5 separate regions of the Homo sapiens genome follow, and all the other regions are linked to region 4. The links are contacts of gene promoters, found by promoter capture Hi-C in blood cells and fetal thymus (Javierre and others, 2016). All regions are on one chromosome and are shown on one strand. The core of a region is centred on a gene start or on the middle of the fragment in contact, and the rest is flanking DNA. Distances in the headings are between cores, read along the strand shown. Region 1 overlaps NIN (ninein). Region 2 overlaps NIN (ninein). Region 3 overlaps NIN (ninein). Region 4 holds the start of SOS2 (SOS Ras/Rho guanine nucleotide exchange factor 2). Region 5 holds the start of POLE2 (DNA polymerase epsilon 2, accessory subunit).

The links. Contacts are between HindIII fragments. The CHiCAGO score rates a contact against its expected background, and 5 or more counts as called.
Region 1: a fragment that was not itself captured here is called in contact with the fragment with the promoter of SOS2 in region 4 in 1 of 17 cell types (fetal thymus); the score reaches 5.8 in fetal thymus.
Region 2: a fragment that was not itself captured here is called in contact with the fragment with the promoter of SOS2 in region 4 in 3 of 17 cell types (erythroblasts, total B cells and naive B cells); the score reaches 6.8 in erythroblasts.
Region 3: a contact is called between a fragment that was not itself captured here and the fragment with the promoter of SOS2 in region 4, in 1 of 17 cell types (fetal thymus). The highest score is 5.3, in fetal thymus.
Region 5: a contact is called between the fragment with the promoter of POLE2 here and the fragment with the promoter of SOS2 in region 4, in 6 of 17 cell types (naive CD4 T cells, fetal thymus, activated CD4 T cells and 3 more). The highest score is 6.7, in naive CD4 T cells.

Annotation. Positions count from the first base shown.
Region 1 is chr14:50,795,596-50,798,295 of GRCh38, forward strand. All of the region lies in intron 4 of NIN (ninein), which reads right to left. Among named protein-coding and RNA genes, the nearest start is that of NIN, 34 kb to the right of the region's middle. The HindIII fragment of the contact is 1,304 bases long and covers 646-1,949 here.
Region 2 is chr14:50,753,247-50,755,946 of GRCh38, forward strand. NIN (ninein) reads right to left here. Exons shown (of 31, transcript NM_020921.4): 19 at 1,496-1,621; 20 at 1,317-1,386. Among named protein-coding and RNA genes, the nearest start is that of NIN, 77 kb to the right of the region's middle. The HindIII fragment of the contact is 518 bases long and covers 1,086-1,603 here.
Region 3 is chr14:50,775,259-50,777,958 of GRCh38, forward strand. It overlaps NIN (ninein), which reads right to left. Exons shown (of 31, transcript NM_020921.4): 7 at 1,691-1,881. Among named protein-coding and RNA genes, the nearest start is that of NIN, 55 kb to the right of the region's middle. The HindIII fragment of the contact is 1,458 bases long and covers 721-2,178 here.
Region 4 is chr14:50,230,191-50,232,890 of GRCh38, forward strand. SOS2 (SOS Ras/Rho guanine nucleotide exchange factor 2) reads right to left here and starts at 1,388. Exons shown (of 23, transcript NM_006939.4): 1 at 1,007-1,388. The coding sequence starts at 1,093. RefSeq lists a silencer at 980-2,059 and an enhancer at 2,210-2,299. The HindIII fragment of the contact is 6,352 bases long and covers 1-2,267 here.
Region 5 is chr14:49,686,951-49,689,650 of GRCh38, forward strand. It overlaps POLE2 (DNA polymerase epsilon 2, accessory subunit), which reads right to left and starts at 1,264. Exons shown (of 19, transcript NM_002692.4): 1 at 1,186-1,264. The coding sequence starts at 1,253. RefSeq lists enhancers at 501-1,262, 1,263-2,022 and a silencer at 1,327-1,376. The HindIII fragment of the contact is 3,892 bases long and covers 1-2,700 here.

The sequences.
Region 1 (2,700 bases), core at 48-2,547, 570 kb after region 4:
CGTTTATTTACTTTCTGAGCACATCCAGATGGAACCTTTATTTTTCAGGGTGTCATTCTGGAATAATCTTATCTATGTCAGATAACATGGAGGCTTTTGGTTTATTAAGAAACGAAATTATTGACATCACAGAGCTTCCACAGGTGAGAGTATCTGCTCCAATCACCAGCTCCAAGAAGGGACATGAAATGCCTGGCCAATATGGCGAAACCTGGACTCTATTAAATACAAAAATTAGCCAGGCGTGGCGGCTCGTGACTGTAGTCCCAGAAACTTGGGAGGCTGAGGCAGGAGAATCGGTTGAACCTAGGAGGCAGAGGCTGCAGTGAGCCGAGACTGCGCCACTGCACTCCAGCCTGGGCAACAGGGCAAGACTCCATCTCAAAAACAGAAACGAAACAAAACAAAAAGAAATGCTATCAAAACAAAGTATAAATGACTGCCATGCTTTCAGTGTTTCAGTGTTTGAGTTCCTTGAAAGTGTATTTATGATTCTCCCTGGATTGTTAAGCTTCTGAGTCATTTTTCCTTCTTTCCCATTTTCCATTTCTCCTATTTGGCATCACTACAAAAATTAAAGTGGGCTTCAAAGGAAAGCAGACAAGCCCAGCTTGCCTGGAGGTGTCTCAGACCCCATCCCTGGAAAGCTTATTATGAGACACACCAATCAGAGGAAGGTGGCTTTGAGGCAGTCCAACCTGACCTAGTTTAATGATCTAGGTTTTATTCCATAAGCCAAATGCTTGGTTATGAGCAGGGGACAGTAGAGAAACCTTGCTTCAACCCTCCACTGGAGTAATGTGGAAGTGAGTGACAGTCTCTACAGAGCACGTGGGGAAAACATCTGATTCGAGAGTTAAAAAGATGAAGAAAATACTATGCCTTCGGGCCTTAGAAATGACAGCTGGGTTGCTCACACGCCACATTTGTTATTTCACATCTCATCTGTCCCAAGAAGAGAAACTCCAGAGCTTCGATAATGTTCCCCTTCCAAATCAGGATAAACCACCATGCACATGTATGATGCTTGACCAGAGGTCTTGCACTCATAATAAAAAGAAAGTTAAAATATGGTGTCAGGGAGAATGACCACTCAGAGTAGATAAGCCAGCTGCAGCCAGGGGAAATAACAAACACCCGCCTCATTCCTCTCCCAGTTCCTTTCCCAGCAGCAGTGTGGAGGGGAGAAACACAGCCTCCCCTACTCCAGGTTTCAAGCAATACAGAGTACACTTTTTAAAGCTCTCCCCTAAAACTGACCACTGCACCAGATCACCACATCTGCATCAGATGTGATACAGGTCACTGCTTAAAATGCTCAGCTCTCCTAAAACCACTGCATGAACAGCCAAAGCCAAAGCAATGAGGACCTAAGGGAAGCTAAAATCATTATGCAAAAGCCTGAACACTATATATTCAATTGAATGCTTTCTTTGCAAAAACATAAGCTCAGGACCTGGAATGGAGTGGCAGCCATAGCTGCTTCCTGGAAGTTAAAGGAGATTTTTCAAAGATGCTCCCCAGTGTTAGGCAGATTCATTTAACACATAAGCGTATTTACCAAACACCTGCCATAGGCAAAACATTACGTTGTACCTATTGAGGAAGAAGATGGATATTTTAACTTGTTTTTTGAATCAAAAAATTCCCTGTTCCCAAAAATGACCTGAGGCCATTTCCAAGGATGAAGAAGAAAACCCTGTCGTTAGGGTGCTGGTATTCTCATTTTGGAATTGCTCGCATAGGACTTTGCTTTCTATGTCCCTTCCTGACTCATTTAGTGAGCCTGGGAAATCATTCCCAGAGACACCACCCCCATCCAAAGAACCTCAGCACAGGAGGCCCTTCATGTTACATTGCTGCTGAGCTCACAGGAATGCTGAAATCCGTTTGAAAAGGAAAGGTAAAAAATGAAGCATGTGCAAACCTCAAGGCCAGCATCCCCAAGAAGCTTTCTTGGGAAAAGGCAGTCATGCAGCAAATGAGCCCCACCCTGCCCCATTCTACATCCCACCTCCTCGCCTATGCTGAATGCACCATCACACAGGGATTACACAGTGAAAATGCAAACCCACGCCTGATTCTAAATAAGAGAAGGGAAGAAAATCCAAAGGAACACTAAGACCAAGAAAAATACAGACAGAGACCAGTGGAAACTGACACAGAGAGACAGATATGGAGAGAGAATGAGACAGAGACTGAGACCAAGAGAGGGAAAGAAGTGGGTGGGGAAACAGGAGATAATAGGGACCTAGAGGCCTATGGAGGGGTGGGGAAGGGGAGCAAGAGATATAGATGTGGGAAGACCACCAGGAAGGGAAAGAGTGGAGTGGGAGACTGAGGAGGAGGAGGGGAGAGATGAGCTGGGGTGGAGGAAAGAAGGGAGTTGGGAGGGGAACGTCTCAAGGATGGGAAGGGAGAAGGGGAGGCCAAGAAAGGTTAAACATTAAAAAGGCATCAGCAGAAGCTTTCTGACATGATCTGCCTTTCCTTTTGCTTCCCAGTGCACTCCCTGCCTCTAGGGCCATCACCAGCAAGCAGCCGCACCACACTTCTGTGTGCACTAAGCCCTTTCCAATTAGCACCTCCCTCCCCAACTACTTCTCTCTCCTGGAACCTCCACACAAGATGCAGATGTTTAATTAGGTCTTTCAGTTCCTCCCTGAATGCAGTGACAGAATCTTAGGCGCAGTCTCCACC
Region 2 (2,700 bases), core at 95-2,594, 520 kb after region 4:
AAAATTAGCCGGGTGTGGTGGCATGTGCCTGTAATCCCAGCTATTTGGGAGGCTGAGACAGGAGAATCGCTTGAACCCAGGGGGCAGAAGTTGCAGTGAGCTGAGATTGCGCCATTGCACTCCAGCCTGGGCAACAAGAGCGAAACTCCGTCTCAAAAGGAAAAAAGACTCTTTCCAAGTCAGTGTGTTCAGCAACCACCACATACTACTTTTTACTGGCTATAGGATATTCCATGTAGTAAGATATTCCATAATGCATTTATCTGTTCCCACGTTGATAGACATAAAGTTTTTAAAATCATTATTTCTTTTAAATGGATCTTTTAGAAAATCCATTTATACATGGTAGTATTTTGTATTTAGAATTATTTTTTAGAAGTAGGATTGCTGGGTTAGAAGATCTGTATATAGATATATATTCATTATTGTTTCAACAGATATCTCTAATATGTCTTCCTCACAGTGCTACCACCTTATAATCCTAACAACAATGCATGGGCACAGTCATTTCCTCACATCCTTTTAAATACTAGATATCAATCTTTACTTCTTGCTAATTCAATAGGTTAAAAAAAAGACGCTTATTGAATTTGCACTTCTCTAATCACTAATAAGGCTAACCATCTTTTGTATTCTTTTTTTTTTCTGTGACTTGACCATTCATATAGATTGCCTATATTTCAACTGGATTTTCCCATTTATTTGTAAGAGTCCAAAATACATTTTGGATGTTAACACCTTGTCTATTTCAAGTGCTGAAAATACTCTTTCCCAATATGTCCTTGTCTTTTGACTGCTTCAGACAGATTCTTAAATGGCCTTCCCTTTTTATAACTGCATGTTGTAAGATTATACAAATTGAGCACTGAATGGCACCAGCTATCTGAATAAAATGTAATTCTGTGAAATGATATGCTGATTAGCTGGCATTCTGTATATGTGAAATTCTGCCCTTAACTTTCTGCTTTCAATCATGGTGAGGAAAAAGGAAGGGCTAACATTAACTGAAACTGCACAAGGGCTACAGCTAATATTTCGTAGGTATGGTTTTAGAGGTATCACCTCCTCAATTCTGCTGATGATAAAGCTTTATCAAGCACTTAGGGCCTAGAATAATATATACATTATTTAACATAAAACAGGAAGCTAGTTTAGAGTCAGTATGAGGTAAGTTTCCATTTTCAAATTCAGAATTTACAACCTTACCATCATTAGCTATATGCTATTCATTACCGTGTGCTGTAAATTTATAAATTTCAAAAAATGGGAAAATTTTGGAATCAAAAAACATTGAGAAATATTAAGTATTTCCTTACCTGTTTCTTTAAATTTTCAACCATCTTCTGAACTGCAGCATTTTCTTGTTTTACAGTTTCCGTTTTTTGCCTAAAAGGAATGATGAAAATAAAATTTAATGGTTAGGCTTTAAAAGCTGAAGTAAAAGAATTTTAGTCTTTGCAAAAATGTCTTAGGAAAATGTAAGTATACGTCTTACCACATTTCTTCCTGAGATCCATTTAATGTCCCTAATTTCAGGTTAGAAATGCTATCTTCTTCATTTAAAGTAGTAATTTCATTTCTCAAAATAGAATTTTCCTGTTGAAGCTTTTCAGATTCATATCTGAAGCACAGAGATTGAAAAAAATTGTTACAAGGCAGTCATCTGGCATCTTTGGAAAATATTTTCTAGTAACTTCCAAAAGGATGAGTATTCAATGCCAGTTAAAAAGAAAAGTCTAAATTAGTAGTCTCTTAGTATTTGGAAATCGAGTTATGACATATTGACACATTTCTTTTGGGAAGTAAGAATTTCACTAAAAGATGTTAGAGAAGTGTAGCTAAAAAACCCTTAAGCCTGGAGAAATGAATCAAGACTCAATGCTCATTCTGGTTGTTGATTTTTCTCAATGGCAAGCATACTGCTTTGAGCAAATGTCTTCATTTATCTCAGTCTCAAGTCCTACCTGTTCTGAATACACATAAGCCATGTTACAAAGCTATATTAGCTTAGTTTTAGGCCCCTGGGTACCTAGGGAAAGAAAATTCTCTATTGAAATCAAAGGGCCACAATGAAATATGTACACTGTTTACTTTGTGATTTTATTCATCTCATTATATTCTGATTTTTAGGACTAAAAATGGTCTGAAGAAGAGGAAAAACTACATTCAGAATTAAATTATTTCAGAGACATTTCAGACGTCCTGTAATAGTTTACAAGTTTTTTTTTTTTTTGAAAAACCAAATTTGCTAGAAGACTATGCAATTATATTTTACAATGTCAAGTGGGCAGTGGTTCAAATTAATTCTACTTGTATCTCTGCTTTTCAAGCATATTTATTAGAATCTGGAGGCTCCTCAAATTATATGTTCTAAGATAAATTTCCACTGTTTGTTTTGTCTCTTTTTTTTTTTTTTTTTTTTTTTTTTTTTTAAAAGAGACAGGGTCTCACTCTGTCACCCAGTCTGGAGTACAATGGCATGATCATGGCTCACTGCAGCTTTGACCTCTCAAGCTCAAGCAACCCTCCCACCTCGGCCTCCCAAGTAGCTGGGACCACAGGTGTGCACCACCACGCCCAGCAAACATTTTTTTATTTTTCTGTAGAGGCAGTCTTGCTATGTTCCCTAGGCTTGCCTGGAAACTCCTGGCCTCAAGAAATCCTCTTGCCTTGGCCTCCCAAACAGTTGAGATTGCAGGC
Region 3 (2,700 bases), core at 200-2,699, 550 kb after region 4:
AAAATAGGCTTGGGGCCAGATTCGGCATCGGGCATGCTGGTTTGCATCTCTGCCCTGTCATTGTTCTTGCTTTCGGAAAGGAGTGTGCTAGTTACAGGCATAAGACAGTGACTCTAGTTCCCCTTCATGAAAGCAGGGAACAGCCACGATTTCACTCTCTCTACCTATAAAATGAGAGGTGACTAAATCTAAAATGGCGTTCAGTTGTAAAATTTTAGGATTCCAAGTAAATGAGATCATCTTGAACTTCCAGCTCCTCTGTGGTTTAGAGCTAGTAATACTAAGTACTATAGAATTTCACTATTTTTCTTTAGCAGGAAAAACACTAAGTAAAAGTTATATTCTATGAGCAATCCTCTACTTGTCCTCAGGCCAGAGGAAAATAACTAAATGTGCTACTTCTTTTCCTGAGCTTTGGAAACCACCACAGAAGAACATGCAGCTCTCCACAAGTAGCTACAGTTTATTCCAAGAATTGGTTTTAGATAAATAATCCAAGTTTGTGCAATATTTTTTGGCAAAAACAACCCAAGGTTCTACATATTGCACTGATTTACAATTCAGGAGAATAAATTTAATTTTATGACTTAATAGTCACCAATGAAAAATAAATTACCACTGAGCCATTACAAAGGTAAACAAAGGGTATATAATGGTCAAAAATACAGGAAAGAAGGGGAAAACAACAAAAAAAATTTTCTGTAAGCTAGGCTACTTGAAAGCTTTTGAAAATAAATCAAAAGCTATTATTTGTTTAGAAAAATACCACTAAACAAATATTTCTATTATCTGTTTAGAAAAATAATACCACTTATCCCCCGAGCAAGCAGAAAGCATGGTTTCAAATATCATTATAATCAAAGATTCCCAAAGCGACAACTGTAGCCCTACCCTAACTCTCTCCAATCCTTATTTTCAGCTCGTTGAAAGGCACATCTTAGAATTATTTCTATTCTTATGTTTCACAGCTATTCATGCACCCAGTCCTACCAGTTCCTCCCTTAATTTTTTAGAAAACATAAAGCTCAGAGTTTTACCAAAGAAGAGTCTTTTGGGGGCTCCTTCAAAACTCTTCTTAGTATTTTCAAAACAACCAAACTACCCTTTACCATTTTCTCATGACCAGAATATTGTAATGGCTGCTGGCTGCTCTCACCCAAGGCTCTCTTCATGCTAATATGTAAAAGCAGTTTAGCTCCTCGTCAGCAAGCAAGATTTTTCTATATATTGCTCAATCTGCTTAAGAACTCAGAGATGATATTGAGATGTTCTTTCCAAAAACTTAAATTTATCCTTCTGGTCTTCAAAATACTCCCCCAACTCAAATCTACTGAAATCCTTGCTTAATTCTGCCTCCACATGTTTCCCACAATTTACTCTGTGAATGGCACCTCTACAAATACATCTGACATCATGGCTACAGAGAGCTAGTGCCTGACAGTTTCACATGGGGTAACCTGCCTAGCACAGTGAGCTTACAATAGCTGGGTAAGTGTCAGCTCTTGTCAGTTTTTCTTTTTCACAACACAACAAGAGCTCCTCAGTGACAGAATCTTCATGAATGACTTCTTAGGAAAAAAGAAAATGGAGCCTAACAAGCTGCAGAGAGCCACACTACAGCTGTTCCTAGCATGTGGTCAACTACACTTTTACCATCATTATCATTCCTGAATTATACTGCGAGGCTTACCTCTCCATCCACATTCTGTAAACCATACTGCTCACAGATGGAGACCAGCTTCTTCCGGTTCAGGTGACCATCACGGGTGATCCCCAAATCTTCACAAACTTCTTGCAGTTTCTCTTCTATCCAGTCTTGGGGAGGGGAAGATCCACTCTGTGAAGCATTCAAGTCATCTGGGTTCCAAAACCTTAACTGGCCTGAGAGAGAAGCATATGTTGCACGGTTTCCAAAGGAATTGCAAAGAGAGAGTGCCTATTCTTAAAGAAAACTGTGCTTTTTGAAAATAAATACTGTAAGAAAAAGGCAATAAATGTCAATTCCATTTTGATTTGGTCCTGAAGCTCCCATGAAACAGAATCAATGGTTCTAAGGCTGCAACTAGAGTAAATGGGTACTTTTTGGCTCCCTGACAGTCATACCGGTGTAATAAATATAATCTCCTGTGCAATACTGCAAAGTTCTAGGCTTGTTTTATTTCAGCTGAGCACATCACAAGCTTAGGCTATAGTGATCATAGAGAAAGAAGGCTGGTTGAGGGCCATTATCGAGAACTCTGTAAGCTCTATCTCAACTATAGCTACCAGAATGTATTACCTCCACTTTCTTTCCAGCCTAAGTACTACAGCATCTTTTACTGAAAAGAAAATAATTTCATGATAAAAGTCTCAACATTAGCCTGTTCCCAAATCCTTACATATGAATATTCTGACATACAGAAACCAACAGTCCAACTGAAATTAAAAAAAAAAAATCAATGGTTGCAAGCTATAAGTTCCCAGTTATCTATACATTAAATTTCATTTGAAGACTTAAGGATCAAACTACTTATTTAAAAATCAAAACTTCTTATTTATTCTCTATTAAAAGCCCTCACTTCTAAATTTTGCTTTACACATTAGAGATTCTGTAAAGTCATTACTTAAACATGAGATAATTACTGGCACAATTTTGTGTGCTTGGAAGAACCTCAGAGGGTTGAAAGCAGTATTTAGTGCTACTCCCACTCTTTAGTGACA
Region 4 (2,700 bases), core at 138-2,637:
ATTTAATGTCTGAGGATATATTTTCCAAGTATAGTCTTTTAAATTAATCTTTATTTTTTCCTTATTTTAGAATGTATTCTTGGTTATTTTGCACAAAAGGCAGAAGAGACTAAGTCTGCATTAACGGCAAAGAAAGAAAGCCCCTGCTCAACAGGCATGACAGCTGATCACGCACCTATTCACAGTCTTTAAATGTCTTGATCTTACAGAAGGATTTATTATAAAAATGATCGTATGGTTACTACCTAAATTCACAGAGGAAGACCGCCACCATCTACAGGAAAGATGCACCCTAGCAATGCACCCAAACATGAAAGACTGATTTGCAGGAGTTGCCCCTTTCTTGTTCCTTAAAATGATTTCAAGTCCTAAATCGCAATTTGGTCGTGAAGACACTGAAGACACTGACCAAATTTTCTAAGGGTAATCTCTTGTAAACAGGTAAGACACCGTTTGCAGGAAGTGGGAAGGCGCTTTAAATTTACCTTGAGAACTGTAAAATGAATAAGAATATTATGACTCACTGACATTTCACACATGTGAAACATCCATATTACAAAAAACCATTGCCTCATAAGTGGATACCCTTGACAAGCAAACCGCCTAGGGGGAACACTCCCAAAGAACTTAATTAAAAGTAATTACCCGGCCTGAAAATGTGCTTTTGTTTTAGAAACTGTCTAAATACCAGCGGGACTTTCTCTTGCCCGATTCCAGCCTGAGGACAACAAATTGGTCAACGGCGGAAGTTGCCTGACGAAATGACTGCAACATGAAATCCAGTTTTATGATCATAACAAAACCTTCCTTCCGGGACCAGGCAAAAAAAAAAAACTTGAGAAACGTCCTTCAGAATGCAACAGGCAATTGTGAGCCCCCCATTGCCAGCCAACGAGAAACGGCTCGGCCCCGGGGACTCGAGCCCTGTGGGAGGGACGACCTGCTCCCCGTTAGAAGCTCGGGGGGCCACGGGCCACCCGCCGGCCGCCCCGCCCCTAGCACTGACCTTCCGCAGGGCCGAGACCAACAGTCCCCGCCATTTCGGACTGTTCTCCTCGCTGAAGAACTCGTAAGGCTGCGGCGCCTGCTGCATGGCCCCGGCGACAGCGCCTCCGCATCGGGGGCAGCCCGCGGGCCGGGCCGGTGGCCTGACAGGCAGGGCGCGGGCCGCCTCGCCTCGCCGGCGGCCGCCGCCTCCCGCCCGGGCCGAGGCTACGGCCGAGGCGGCTCGGAGGCGGCGCCGGCGGGCTGGCGGAGACCCCGGGGTCGGCTTCCTCCGCCGAGGCGGCCCTCGCCTCCCGCAGCGCCCGCAGAGGAAGCGCGGCGACCCGCAAGCCCGGGCGACCCCGGGCGGCGACCTCCTTTCCCGGCGGCGCTGGCCCGCTTCTGGGGCGGCTCCTCCTCCTTTGTCTGGGTTCGCGGCCCGTCAGGGGTACAGCTGGCCCAGCCCCGCCCCGACTCCCGCTACGGCCGCGGCGGGCGGTGAGCAGCGGCGGCGGCGGCGGCGGCTGCTCGTCTCCTCATCGCCTCCTCCCCGCCCTCCCAGCCGACAGCGCCGCCCGGCCCTGCCCACTCGAGTCACCTCCACAGAGCTCTGGGGACCGACCCGGAGTGCGCGTCGGGCGAGCGAGCCTCGCTATGGCGCGCACAGCGCTGGCCGCCGTTGCTGCCCCTTTAGCAGCAGCGCAGAGTGCCTTGGGGTCGCCGCTGAGCCCTGAGTCCCAGCAGCCGAGGCTCGGCCCGCCCCCTCGGCCCGGCGCTCATTATCCCGAATAGCCCAAGAGGCCTAACACGGAGCATGCGCGCCGCGGAGCAGGCACAGGCGCCAGCCCGGCGCGGGGGTGCGGGGCCTGGGGCCCCGGGGGAGTCCGCTTTTCCCGAGACTGTGCTGGGGGCCGCTCCAGACTCTTCAGTTTGACTGCTTTTTACCCATATGCTCCCTCCTCTCGACCTGCTTAAGACAATCCGGACTCGGTGCCACTCTTGTAGCGCTGGAGCCCCAGGACTACCGTCGTGGGAGGCTGCATAGGGACGTGGAGAGAAAGGGGCATTCGGGCTGGACAGGATATTTAACGTATTTGTGCTCTACGTGGCTTGTTTTCATGAGTACCGTATGTTTACACAAAGTAGGTACTATATATAATATATCGTTAGGAGATACAGTAACTATTTCTTAGGGTGATGGTGTGGGGACCGAGAGATGAGGCGTGGAAAGCCCTTAGCCTGGTGGTAGGGTCAGAAGGGGCAGATGACAGTGACGTTGATCAAGCTTGAATTGAAAGGTCCTTCACTTGCACGGGCCCCTGTGCGTTCACAAAATCATATCGTTTTTACAAAACTTTCAAGATATTTTCGAATTGTTTTCTTAATCGTGTCATCCAAATTGTGTAGGCTTCAGGTCCTACAAAACCTGGATCGGCGTCTAGGAAACACTCATTAGCAACCCAGAAAAGATCCTGACAAGCTTTTCAATCCAAAGAGGCATAGGCTCTGGTAACTCATTACCACAAATTTCATCCCACTAAAGAGGCTGAGCACATTACTTTTAACAGGTTGTAAAGAAGATATTTTACTCCCTGTCCCTAGCCACCAGCAGTGAGAAAGGGAAAAGACGAACAGGGTACAAAAAATAAGTCAGTACTACAATTCAGTTCCGGCATCAGTAGCTGAGCAATTATTCTCCCCAAAACATGCACCACT
Region 5 (2,700 bases), core at 14-2,513, 540 kb before region 4:
GGTATATCCAATCCAGCAGGTATTTCAATATGTATAAAATATTGTGTTCTAGGTCAGGCGCAGTGGTTCACGCCTGTAATTCCAGCATTCTGGGAGGCCACGGCGCGAGGACTACTTGAGCCCAGGAGTTCAAGACCAGCCTGGGCAACATAGCCAGACCCCGTCTCTAAAAAACATACAACAACAAAAAATCAGCCAGGTATGGTGGCCCATGCCTGCAGTCCCAGCTACTTCAGCCCAGGAGGTTGAGGCTGCAGTAAGTCAAGTTCGCATCACTGCCCTCCAGCTTGGGCGAGAGTGAGACCATGACTCAAAAAAAAAAAAATACATATATATATATACACACACACCACACACACACACACACACACACACACACACACACACGTACATATAGAACTCTAAAACACGGAGCAGATTTAATGAGAGAAATCTTGGGAAGGTTCATATGTTCTATAGGTCCTCAAAAACACGGATATGCCCAGGAAACCTGACTTTCACATAAATTGGCAACTGCAGACGTGCAAGTGGGCTTTCTCGGGTCTCTCATCTTATGTCTCAGCAACCTTCCCGGGAGCCTGAGAGCTGTCCAGGTCACAATGTTGATAACCGGCTGCCATAGATAGGTTGCAGCTTCTCGGGCTCAGTTTGACATGTGCAGAAGAGCCTCGGCCCGCCTAGAAGAAACATTAAACTCCTCGCATGGGTCGGGGAAACCAAAGAAGGCACGGCAGCCTCAAGATCCACCTCGCTTCTTAGAACTTTTTTTTAATGGAGTCTCTCTCTGTCGCCAGGATGGAGTAGAGTGGCACGATATCGGCTCACCGCAACCTCCTCCTCCCGGGTTCAAGCGATTCTCCTGCCTCAGCCTCCCAACTAACTGGGACTACAAGCGCGCGCCACCACGCCCAGCTAATTTTTGTATTTTTAGTAGAGACGGGGCTTCACCATGTTGGCCAGGATGGTCTCGATCTCCTGACCTCGTGATCCGCCCGCCTCGACCTCCCAAAGTGCTGGGATTACAAGCGTGAGCCACCGCGCCCGACCGCTTCTTAGAACTCTGAAATTTAAGGTCAAGCCCCCTCTCGGCGCGCGGGGAGCCGCCGCGGTGCGTCCCGCTGCCGCACCAGGCAGACGGGCCCCAGCTCTTCCCTCTCGCCCTTCAAGCTGCCCGAGCCCACTCACCCACGGAGCAGCAAGCCCCGCAACTTGAAGGCGGAGAGCGCCCGGCTCCGCAGCCGCTCCGGCGCCATATTTGCGATTTGGCGCCACCGCCGCAGCTCCGCCCCTTCCCGGGCGCGCCCCTCCCAGCTCCGGCCTCGGCCCTGGCCCGCGTGGCGCTAAACCCTGTTAAGATCCCTGCTTGGTCTCCGCTGCCTGCGCCGCAGCAACTCAGACCTTACAGTTCGCAACCCCGGACCGAGTAGGCTGAAAGTGGAGACCACCTCGCGCTCCTTTGCTGCCGGGAAACTGAGGGCCAGAGCGTCTTCCCTGGTGTCGGGCTGCGTTGAGCCAGCCACAGCGCTCTCACCGCTGCCCTAGACATTGCAGGACTGCGGCCGAGCTTCCCGGACACAGGATCCCCCTTCTTTCGAGGCCATGAGAGCTGTTGGGTTCCCTACTTCGCACAAGCTCTGGAAATACTGTGCCTCGACATTTACCGGAAGCTGTTATAAATCTCCATCGCTCCCACCTACCCCGATTTTTATTTAACTTGAGGGCTTCGTATGCGCCATGCACTGTCATAAGCACTTTAAATGTGTGAATTCATGTGTTGCTCATGACAGCCCAGTGAGCTGTCTACTGTCTTTTCCACAACAGCCTCATTTTACAGATGAGAAAACTGAGACACAAAAATGGTAAAGGACTTGCTCAAGATGAAACGACGAGTTAAATGGTGTAGTCAGGATTTGAACTCAGTTATTCTGATTTCAGGTGGACTGTCAATCTGCCACACTTCAAAACGCTTGCTCCAATGAGTTGACTAACCCGTGGAGTGCTTATAAGTAAACACGCGGCTTATAAAACAGGAGGATGATTTCACAGTACCAATATAAAGTGACCTCCAACGTATACGGGTTTTTTTCTTTTTTAAAAAAAAGCGAAGTTTAATGAAGGAAGGGAAACAAAAGTATATGTATTTGTTTTTGCATTTTAAAAACCTCTGGGCCCGGGCGCGGTGGCTCACATCTGTAATCCCAGAACTTTGGGAGGCCGATGCTGGCAGATCACTTGAGGCCAAGAGTTCGAGAACAGCCGGGCCAACATGGTGAAACCCCGTCTCTACCAAAAAAAAAAAAAAAAAAAAAAAATTAGCCAGGCGTGGTGGCGCGCGCCTGTAATCCCAGCTCCTGGGGAGGTTGAGGCAGGAGAATCTCTTGAGCCTCGGAGGCGGAGGGTGCAGTGAGCCGAGATCGTGCCACCACTCCAGCCTGGGCAACAAAGCAAGGCTCTGTCTCAAAAACAAAAAAAGCCGGGCGCAGTGGTTCACGCCTGTAATCCCAGCACTTTGGGAGGCCGAGGTGGGCGGATCATCTGAGGTCAGGAGTTCGAGACCAGCCTGACCAACATGGAGAAACCCCGTCTCTACAAAAATACAAAAAAATTAGCCAGGCATGGTGGCGCATGCCTGTAATCCCAGCTACTCGGGAGGCTGAGGCAGGAGAATTGTCTGAACCCGGGAGACAGAGGTTGCGGTGA